Linked DNA regions of Homo sapiens: all the other regions are linked to region 4. The links are contacts of gene promoters, found by promoter capture Hi-C in blood cells and fetal thymus (Javierre and others, 2016). All regions are on one chromosome and are shown on one strand. Each heading gives the region's core, a stretch centred on a gene start or on the middle of the fragment in contact. The rest is flanking DNA. Distances are from core to core; before and after follow the strand shown.

Region 1 (2,700 bases), core at 15-2,514, 630 kb after region 4:
CTGCCATCAGCATGAAGAAACCTAAGAATCAGTCAGCTGATGTATCATTTTATGTATTTAAGTAAATATAAATGGTATCACATGTATCTGCAAATATATTCAACATATTTTAAACTCTCTTTTAAAAATATATAAGCATGTTTAGAAATACACCTAAGAACAGAACATTTTATATAAAAAGAAATTGTTATTGGCTGGAAATGAAACACTAGCATAGTGTTTTTGAATTTTTATTTAGGAGCTACAGTTTTTATAAATTTCTTGTTCTTATAGTTTATAGTAATGCTCTATATAGTAGCACTGTTTCTTAGCATATTTTCAGAATCAAACAAATAATTGGAAAAATACTTATCCTTAGGGAAAGGCGTAATTGTTAACTGCTACAGTTAAATTTTTTAATAGATGAATTTAAGCAACTGTGGAAGAATTGAAATAATGAAACTTATTTTAAGGAGTACATTGTTTCATGGGTACCATTACATCATTTCTTTAACTCCTTAGTACAGAGGATTGACAAACAGTACCAAACAGAATTCTGTGTTGCTGTTGGAGCAGATTTCTTCTCTGTGTAGCAAGGTATTGAGGGTTTCTTGGGGGTTTTTTGTTTGTTTGTTTTTATACTTGCCATTTAAGGATGTGTAAGAAAAGGGAATGTAACTTATTAATCTGTTTGCTTGATGACTTGGTTTCTTTAATGTAATATAGGATAATTTTGGTCCTAACTCATATTAAGATACTTTGGACTTTTCATAATAACTGTAAAAGTACTCTGCAAACATAAGTGACATTTTGTTTTTAGGAGATATTTTCAGAAATAAGCTTTATGACTGGTAATTGCTTTAAAGTTTTAAAATTTTATAACATGTTATTGTTAACCTACTTCTTCAACATGCGATTTCAATTTTATGAGAAGACATTCATATACTTGCATTCTTTTTCTCATTGTAGGGCAGGGGATGAAAGTGGAAAAAGCTAAAGTTCTACTAAATTGTCATTTGGGAGTTTTCAATTTTTCTTTCTAAATTCTGATGATGTTTAGGAGATTTATGGCTACTTTAACAGTTATTTTGTATATATAATGATGTAAAATTGGTATATTTTTAACTTTAAAAAAATTACAATATAAAGAATTTTAAGTGGACTCATCTATTTGAAATCAAATTCAGTTTCTAATAGGAAAAAGTGAAAGTTTGCTTTTTTTCTAGTTATTTATTCAACTGTTATGTTTCTGTGAAAACAATTTTTAATGCACAAAATCTTTATTGGCAGTACTTACATTACATTTTCTTATTGTTTTAATAACAAGTAGACTAGCAAATAGTCCTGCAGGGAGAAAGTGATTATTATAATTATAACAGTTTCCCTATGGTGCTAAAATCAAGTCTTGGTTATAATTCCTATAGAAAATCGATATAGTAAAGGAAAAATGATTTTGACCTTAAGATGTATATTTGACTATATAGTAACTTAAAATTTTGGCTTCTGGCCTCTTTTTCCATAAATTTAATAGTCCTTTGAATAGGACGACAAAGTATTTATTTGATGAAGTGGCCTTTACCAATATTAACCTGGCTTTCATCCTCTAAGAATAACTAATTTACTAAATTTTGAAATTTTAAAATTTATCTTTTATCATTTATCCAACATATATTCTACTGTGTATGAGGTACTATACTAGATTTCGGGAACCCAGTAATGAAGTGTACAGAAGAAGCTTCTGTATTTGTGGAACTTACATTTTAGGGGACCAACAGAAAATAAATAACTACAGACATAATAAGAATTATGAAGAAATAAACAGCCTGAGATAGGGAATAAGTCAAGAGACCCTAGTTTAGATAGAGATTAATAAGGCCATACATTTCTCCAAACTATTTGCAGAGACAGCTTATGAATTAGTATATATTTTTTAAGTGCACTGAGAATAAAAAATACCCTGCTTCTATTTTAATCCAGGTAGCCAAGTAGCTCTCTGTATATCCCTGTCCAGTCACCTAATTTTTTGGAGATGCTTCCTTGTATGGATTGAGAAAATTGTTATTTATCATTAATTATCTATATTGCCAAATAAGGGAGGAAAGGAATATAGATGGTATAGTAGAAAGTCTTAAATAGAAGAGCATGTTTTTTAGAAAACTTGACTTTAAGCCATAGCTATGCCACTCACTGGCTTACAGCTCTTAATATTGTAAACTGGAAATAATAATCCCTCTGTTACCTATTTCAGAGTTGTAATAAAAACCAAATTGAAATGTATTTTATAAACTACCAAGTATGATATAAATGATGGTTGCTAACTAATTTTTTATTGTCTTTGAAGTTTATGTGGCCCAAATGATGGACACACATATGTGAAGCAGTTTCCTTAAAAGTATAAAGCGCTAGATATTAGATATTCTCTAAGTAATTTGAAGGTATGATGAAATTTATAGAAATTTTACAGAGAAATTTGTAGAAATCTTATAGAGACTTTTTTTTTTTTTTTTTTTTTTGAGACGGAGTCTCGCTCTGTCACCCAGGCTGGAGAGCAGTGGCGCGATCTCAGCTCACCGCAACCTCTGCCTCCCGGGTTCAAGTGATTCTCCTGCCTCAGCCTCCCAAGTAGCTGGGATTACAGGCATGTGCCACCATGCCTGGCTAATTTATAGAGACTATTTCAAGTCAAAATGAGATCTGTACCTATAGTTTAACACAGGTGTA
Region 2 (2,700 bases), core at 199-2,698, 600 kb after region 4:
TAAAGACTTAGATGTGAAAGTTCAAGGTGCACACACACCCAATTCAACCAACCCCTAAAAAATTAGAAGTAAATGTTTATGAAAATCTGAACAAGAAAGAATTTCTGAGACTGGAAAACAGAAGAAATTACAAAGGAAAAGGCATGTAATAATATAAAATTAAATAACTACAGTAAATGACATAAAAATTTTGTTAAAAGTAAAAAACAAAAGTGGATTAATAATCTTAATAGATAAAACGTCCATAGAAAGTGATAAAGTAACACTGAAACTTCATTATTAAGTAAATGTAAATATTCAGCTGCATATCAAAAGACAACAGCCTTATTTTTAAAGATAATACTGTGCCTGCACAGATTTGGGATAACAAACATTTGTATGCTCTTCTATGGATTAGAAAACTCATGATTGAAAATACCTATCAAAAGACCTATAAATGATCATTCCTTTGATATCAAAACACATTACACTTCCAGGGATTTATTTTAAATAATCCTACATATATGAAAAAAATCAATGGACAAAGACATCACAGGATACAAAATCAATGTGCAAAAATCACTAGCAAAAAGTCACTAACATTCCTAGACACCAGCAACAGTCAAGCGGAGAGTCAAATCAGGAATGTACTCCCATTCACAACTGCCACAAAAAGAATAAAATACTTAGGAATACAGCTAATTAGGGAGGTGAAAGATCTCTATAATGAGAACTACAAACTACTGCCCAAAGAAACCAGAGATGAAGGCTGGGTATGATGGCTCATGCCTGTAATCCCAGTACTGTGGAAGGCTGAGGTGTGAGGACTTCTTGAGCCCACAAGTTCAAGACCAGCCTGGGCAACACAGTGAGCCCCCATCTCAAAAGAAAAAAAACTTTAATAATAAAAAGCAATCAGAGATGACACAGACAAACGGAAAAACACTCCATGCTCATGGATAGGAAGAATCAGTATTGTTAAAATGGCCATACTGCCCAAAGCAATTTATAGATTCAATGCTATTCCTATTAAACTACCACTGAGACTCTTCACAGAACTAGAAAAAAATATTTCAAAATTCATATGAAACCAAAAAAGAGCCTGAATAGCCAAGGCGATCCTAAACAAAAAGAACAAAGCTGGAGGCATCACGCTACCCAGCTTCAAACTATACTACAGGGCTACAGTAACCAAAACAGCATGGTACTGATAAAAAAAAAAAAAAAAAAAAACCAGACACATACACCAGTGGAAAAAAACCCAGAAATAAGACCACACACCTACAACTATTTGATCTTTGACAAACCTGGCCAAAAAAGCAATGGAGAAAGGATTCCCTGTTCAATAAATGGTGCTGGGAGAACTGGCTAGCCATATGCAGAAGATTGAAACTGGACCCCTTCCTTATACCACATACAAAAATTAACTCAGGATGGATTCCAGACTTAACTGTAAAACCCAAAACTATAAAAACCCTGGAAGACAACCTAGGCAATATCATTAAGAACACAGGCATGGGCAAAGATTTCATGACAAAGATGCAAACTGCAATTGCAACAAAAGCATAAATTGACAGATGGGATGTAATTAAACTAAAGAGCTTCTGCACAACAAAAGAAACTAACAGAATAAACAGACACCTACAGAATGGGAGAAAATTTTTGCAAACTATGCATCTGACAAAGGTCTAATATCCAGCATCATAAGGAACTTAAATTTACAAGAAGAAAAAACAAACCCCATTAAAAAGTGGGCAAAGGACAGGAACATACCCTTTCCAAAAGAAGACGTACATATGGCCAACAATCATGAAAAAAAGCTCAAAATCACTGATCATTAGAGAAATGCAAATCAAAACCACAATGAGATGCCATCTCACACCAGTGAGAATGGCTACTATTAAAAAGTCAAAAAATAACAGATGCTGGCAAGGCTGTAGAGAAAAAGGAATGCTTTTACACTGTTGGTGGGAATTTTACACTGTTGGTGGGAGTGTTCAACCACTGTGGAAGACAGTGTGGCGATTCCTCAAAGTCCTACAGACAGAAATACCATTTGACCCAGCAATCCCATTCCTAGGTACATACCCTAAGAAATATAAATTGTTCTATTATGAAGACACATCCACATGTGTGTTCACTGCAGCACTATTCATTATAGTAAAGACATGGAATTAACCTACATGCCCATCAAAGGTAGATTGGATAAAGAAAATGTAGTACATATATACCATGAAATACTACATAGCCATAAAAAAAAGAACAAGATCATGTCCTTTGCAGCAACATGGATGCAGCTGGAGGCTATTATTCTAAGCAAACTAACACAAGAACAGAAAACCAAATACTGCATATTCTCACTTATAAGTGGAAGCTCAATGATGAAAACACAAGTACACATAGAGGGGAACAACACACACTGAGGCCTATTGGAGGGTGGAGGGTGGGAGTAGAGAGAGGAAAATAACTAATGGGTACTGGGCTTAATACCTGGGTGATGAAATAACCTGTACAACAAACCCCCATGATACAAGTTTACTTATGTAACAAACCTGCACATGTAACTGAACTTAAAAGTTAAAAAAAAAAAACAAAAAACAAGAATTGAAAAAAAAGATGTTTATCAGCCCCTTATAAAAGCCAAAATTTTCATTTCAAAAAACAGAACAATGATCAAGTATCGTAAATCATTTTGTGCACTACTACTTAGTAACCAAAAAT
Region 3 (2,700 bases), core at 142-2,641, 570 kb after region 4:
ATGCCCCACAAGAAGTCTGCAACTCCACTCAATAGAATTAAATGTGTTTAGTCACAGTCACCAGTTGTTTCCACACAAAAGGTTAATTTATTTAATTGAAATGAAATGACAATACCACCTTTCAGTGGAATTTAGAAGTAAAATTGAATGGTATAATCCACCACATAAAGGAATGTGGACATTGACCTCAAAGCAAATTTCCTCTTTGTCTTTTCTCTGCCTGGCAACCATGACTAATCTTTCAAAATCCACCTCAAACGTTACATTTTCTGTCAAGCTCTTCACAACAATTCCTTTCTAACACAGACTGGGCTCCTTTCTCTAGGATTGCCAGAAAGCTTAATGCATGCTTCTACTACAATGTTTCTCTAATCATACTGGCTCTTCCTTGTAAATAACACATGCTGAGTGCTCATTAGATGCCACAAAGTATAATAAAGACTTCACATGAATTATTTTATCCTCACAACTACTTTGTAAGAAAGACACTGTTATTAGTTTCATTCTACAGTGACAAAACTTAGGCTCAGAGTAGCTCAGTAACTTGGCTAAGGATACACAGCTAGGAGGTAGATGGCAGGGATCTGAGTGTAAACAATTTGACTCCGGTGCTTGCAAGCACCATTTTATTCTATATGATGCCTCTTAGGCTGCCAGTCCTTTGAAGGCAGGGCCCTGATATGATTATCTTATACTCCCAGCAGCCACGGTAATGCCTGATACACAGTGGATGCCTAGTATATCTGAGCACAGTACAGAGTACAGTGACCCCCTTGAAAATGCCACTTCATGTGCAAATTCATCTTTAAATAATCGGGATATTTTCCAGATGGTTAATTTGCTTCCAAAGGGGGAAAAGCAGTATCATGGCCAAAGACTAGATAGTTAAGATAGTGGCACAGCTGGAAACATCAACTCATACTGGAGGCAATTAATGATACACATTTTTCAGGAGGTTCCCCTGTGGGGAAAAGAGAGGTTTTTACACTAAATATGGTTTTACTTCTCTCTGTCTCAAACAGAAATGAAAACAAGCATACACACAACTTTTCTGTATTGCTTATTCCTTTCCACTAAAACAACGAAATTCAAGGTAATATAAGAAAGGGGAGGAGAGGGCTATTTATGTCTGTGTTTCTCAAACTTCAGCAGGCATACAAATTGCTTGGATTCTTATGAGAATGCAGGTCCTGATTTCACTTATTCTGTGGAGGGGCTCACGATTTGGCAATCCTAACAAGTTCCCACTTGATGCATTGCTGGTTTATGGACCACATTCTAATTAGCATGGGTTCCCCTTAGACCAAAGACAGAGCTATTTATAAGACAGAGGAGCACCTTCAGTAAGAAATTACTAATACTATCTAACAGAAGGTAACACACATACTTCTTCCTAAACTAGAGATGACTCCATTTGATACACAGTATCTTTCCTGGTTCTTTTCTCCCAAACTGTAGTTCAAGCAGCTTTAGTACTCAGCAAATGTATTTAGGTTCTTTAAAAGTTGGTAACCCATATATGGTAACATGCAAACTAGAATTGAATTCTCAGATTATGTTGCTTACATACCCTATTTTGTGCTGAGGTGACCTAATCTCTTCACTAGATTAAATAGTTTTTAAAAACAAGAAGGGTGGCATCTAGCACATTACTTTTCATACTATGAATGCTTAAATATTTGAAACTTAAATGAAACGGCTTAATCTTTTAAAAGAGGGATGATAGGTGAATGTATATTGTACATTAGCCCTACTTCTTTGTCACTGTTTCATTGGAAATAACAAATTATGTAGTTTTAAAATGTGCGTTAATGTTATATAAGGTTAATATATTTGTAAATAATAACAGTATTCTAAAATAATCACAGGAAATCTTTAGAGGGATATTTCAAATGCCATTTCTGAAAGCTAACACCTGTCAATTTTTTTCATATAAATTATACAAATTTACTCCTTGACAGAAATATAAGTTGTATTTTAATGAAATTACCATGATTGTTCTTTAGACATGTAATACAAAGTATCCAAAATTGTATATATTAGAGTTGCATTAAAGTAAGGCCTGTTAAGAAAAATGTCTATTTTAGTTATAGTTAGACAAGATTTAAGTAAGGAGCAAAACCCAAAACATGAATTTATCACACTTCATGAACTGAACATCAATTTCCCTTTCAGGGAGGATATGATTCCATTCATGCATTCATTTATTCAACAAATTGACTGGTCAGGTCCTGCTGTGGGCGCCGGGAATAAAGTAGTGAGCAGGACCCAGTCCTCATCTTTATAAAGCAGTTTCTAACAGTGGATTATATATGTGTGCATGTGTGTGTGTGTGTGTGTGTGTGTGTGTGTGTGTGTAATTGTTATCTAATACAGCTATGATATATATTTTATATACAATTTATATATAGTATACTTATATATAAAAATATATGAAACACACACAAGCTTTGATCTTTGAAGTGAAAGACGAAAGTTTTAAATTTTCATTTATGTGCTTAAAATATACTTGGGAGATTAATGAATCATCTAAGAAATAGCTAACATAAAACTTTCCTTAATTCATTCTCTAAATTGTGCTAAACTTTCCATAGCTATCAAATGTTCTGTAACAACTATCTATTTTGCAGATACTTGTCACTAGCAAAAACTGCCTTTATACAAAGTAACTTTCGAAAATAGTATTACATTTTGAGTGAG
Region 4 (2,700 bases), core at 179-2,678:
GGCTTTCATATTATACACCAGATAAAGAGGAATAAAATTTTAATTAGGAAATTGAAAAAAAAGGAAAGGGAGAATTTGGGAGGCAATAGGTATTAATAGAAGGACCATGGAACTTGTAATCATACAGACCCTAATTTTAATTCTTACCTATTCTTGAAACACAATTATCTGGAAGACTACAAACTTTCTAAGTACTGTGAGGGGTGGATTGTTACTCTTTATAGTGGACTTGTTACTATTTATAATTGTTGAGAATAAACTTACCACAACAGATTTTCTCTGGAAATTTATGTTGTTGATGCAGACGACCTGATGGGTTGTATATTAATAAATATAAAAAGAAAATAAGGAAAAAATAATTTTTATTATTAAATCAAAGTATAATTCTATCCAAGTATAAATTAGGACTATGTTCTAAGTAATTCAAAATTACATGTCAATATTTCATTTTAAAACTACGAATTGGGGCCTGGTGCGGTGGCTCACGCCTGTAATCCCAGCACTTTGGGAGGCCACGGCAAGCGGATCACGAGGTCAAGAGTTCGAGACCAGCCTGGCCAACAGAGTGAAACCGAGTCTCTACTAAAAATACAAAAGTTAGCCGGGCATCGTGGCACACGCCTGTAATCCCGGCTACTCAGGAGGCTGAGCCAGGAGAAAAGCTTGAACCCGGCAGGTGGAGGCTGCAGTGAGCCGAGATCGCGCCGTTGCACTCCAGCCTGGGCGACTGAGAGACTCCGTCTTAAAAATTAAAAAATTAAAAAAAAAAAAACACTCTACCAATTGGGATAATTTTTTAAAATCTAGCAACAGTCACGAAAACAGATTTGACAGAAATACAATCTAGTACTTAGACAAAAACTTTAGTAACTTGCAACGGGAATTAAATTTGCTGAATAACCTGTCATTCAAAACATTTTTACCTTACAAACACCATTTCCATCACAGTGAGTAAATTCTAGTTTCCCACTAGGTTTCCCAGGCCCACCAAGTCAATTTCAAGCAATCGCAAAATATAATTAATGGCAACAAAACCAAAAGGAAGGAAGGGAAATGAAAAAATACTTATAATTTATATGGCCTTGGGCTTTCAAAGCCCTTGTCTCCTTTCTTCCTGTTCATTCTGGCGGGCTCTACACCAGTCAGCGGCATGAAGCGGTCCCGCGGAGCTTGGCTTCCCGGCTTCCTAGGGGGATACGGGGCATTACTAGTCTTTGGCACCTCACACTCTCCACTCCCCTGCGGTCCCCAAGTCACGTCTCGCAGCTGGCCGGTGCCCAGGTGAGCGACCTGACGGGTCGCTGCCCGCCTCAACCTCGCTCCTTCGACTAGCTCCTAGAAGCCGCCGTCGACAAGCTTCTGTCACAGAGATGCTCCTCTCCGCAAGGGCTCGAAGCTACCATCCGCCGACATCTTGTCTGTAACCTCTGACCTCCGACGTCAGCGGAAGTGGAACGGCGGCGGGGGTAGAACCAGGAAGTCTTGTCAATGGGCAGGGCTTGCGATCTTCGCATGTGTCTTATCGTAAAGAATTGTTAAAATTTAGGATAGGGAAAAAACTATTTAATGGATGAAGCGAGAACAGCAGGAAGAAAAGGAGGGAAGGTAGTTTTCTAGTACAAGCATATTGAGAAGAATGGAGGACAAAGTTTGCGAAGAGCCAGGTATAAATAGGCTGGGGCAGGGTGCTAGTAACTGGGCGGGGTGGGGTGGTGGGAAGTCTCCCGAAATCAGGAGGTGCGTGCCTCTGGCTTGCTGTGTGAACAGACACACTGGGTCCGGTGATTTAAGCTGTAAAATATGTGATTAGACTGCAGGTAGTCTAAATGTCAAAACTGCAGCACTCCACAGCTCTCACTAGGCACTGCTGCCTTAGTATTTATTTTAAAATATAGATTACAAGGCCGGGCGCAGTGGCTCACTCCTGTAATCCCAACACTTTGGGAGGCCGAGGCGGGCCGATCATTTGAGGTCAGGAGTTCGAGACCAGCCTGACCAACATGGTGAAACCCCGTCTCTACTAAAAATTACACAAAATTAGCTGGGCGTGGTGGTGCACGCCTGTAATCCCAGCTACTTGGGAGGCTGGGGCAGGAGAATTGCTTGAACCTGGGAGACGGAAGTTGCAGCGAGCTGAGATCGTTCCACTGCACTCCAGCCTGGGCGACAGAGCTGAGACTGTCTCAGAAAAAAAAAAAAAGAATAAAATATAGACTACAGGCCAGGCGTGGTGGCTCACGCCTGTAATCCTAGCACTTAGGGAAACTGAGGCAGTCATATCACTTGAGGTCAGCAGTTCAAGACCAGCCTGGCCAACATGGTGAAAGCCCGTCTCTAGTAAAAATACAAAAATTAGCCCTGCGTCGTGGCGTGCGCCTGTATTCCCAGCCACTCGGGAGGGTGAGGCACCAGAATCACCTGAACTCGGGAAGCCGAGTTTGCAGTGAGCTGAGATCATGCCATTGCACTCCAGTCTGGGAGACAAAGCGAGACTCCCTCTCAAAATAAATAAATAGACTACATAGAGATATATAGACTGTGTATATATATCATATAATCCATATAAATGCAGAAACATTTATTGAAAGACATTTCGAAGCCATCGTGTTTGTATTTCATGTTCATGACAATAAAACTTGTAAACTTCAGTAACAGTTAAACCTTCTTTAATTATGGATTAGCCATTAACATTTTTGAAAC

What was found. Contacts are between HindIII fragments. The CHiCAGO score rates a contact against its expected background, and 5 or more counts as called.
Region 1: a contact is called between a fragment that was not itself captured here and the fragment with the promoter of TAF2 in region 4, in 3 of 17 cell types (total B cells, fetal thymus and naive B cells). The highest score is 6.2, in total B cells.
Region 2: a contact is called between a fragment that was not itself captured here and the fragment with the promoter of TAF2 in region 4, in 6 of 17 cell types (total B cells, naive B cells, total CD8 T cells and 3 more). The highest score is 9.2, in total B cells.
Region 3: a fragment that was not itself captured here is called in contact with the fragment with the promoter of TAF2 in region 4 in 2 of 17 cell types (naive B cells and erythroblasts); the score reaches 5.5 in naive B cells.

What each region holds. Positions count from the first base shown.
Region 1 is chr8:120,463,186-120,465,885 of GRCh38, forward strand. It overlaps MTBP (MDM2 binding protein), which reads left to right. Exons shown (of 22, transcript NM_022045.5): 10 at 507-576. Among named protein-coding and RNA genes, the nearest start is that of MTBP, 19 kb to the left of the region's middle. The HindIII fragment of the contact is 895 bases long and covers 818-1,712 here.
Region 2 is chr8:120,426,936-120,429,635 of GRCh38, forward strand. All of the region lies in intron 3 of MRPL13 (mitochondrial ribosomal protein L13), which reads right to left. Among named protein-coding and RNA genes, the nearest start is that of MRPL13, 17 kb to the right of the region's middle. The HindIII fragment of the contact is 7,630 bases long and covers 1-2,700 here.
Region 3 is chr8:120,404,235-120,406,934 of GRCh38, forward strand. The region is part of intron 6 of MRPL13 (mitochondrial ribosomal protein L13); the gene reads right to left. Among named protein-coding and RNA genes, the nearest start is that of MRPL13, 40 kb to the right of the region's middle. The HindIII fragment of the contact is 2,110 bases long and covers 337-2,446 here.
Region 4 is chr8:119,831,413-119,834,112 of GRCh38, forward strand. TAF2 (TATA-box binding protein associated factor 2) reads right to left here and starts at 1,429. Exons shown (of 26, transcript NM_003184.4): 1 at 1,070-1,429; 2 at 265-319. The coding sequence starts at 1,152. It overlaps DSCC1 (DNA replication and sister chromatid cohesion 1), which reads right to left. Exons shown (of 9, transcript NM_024094.3): 9 at 2,564-2,700. It overlaps LOC105375728 (a long non-coding RNA gene), which reads left to right and starts at 1,467. Exons shown (of 4, transcript XR_928590.3): 1 at 1,467-1,664. RefSeq lists enhancers at 1,081-1,130, 1,191-1,550. The HindIII fragment of the contact is 3,868 bases long and covers 1,355-2,700 here.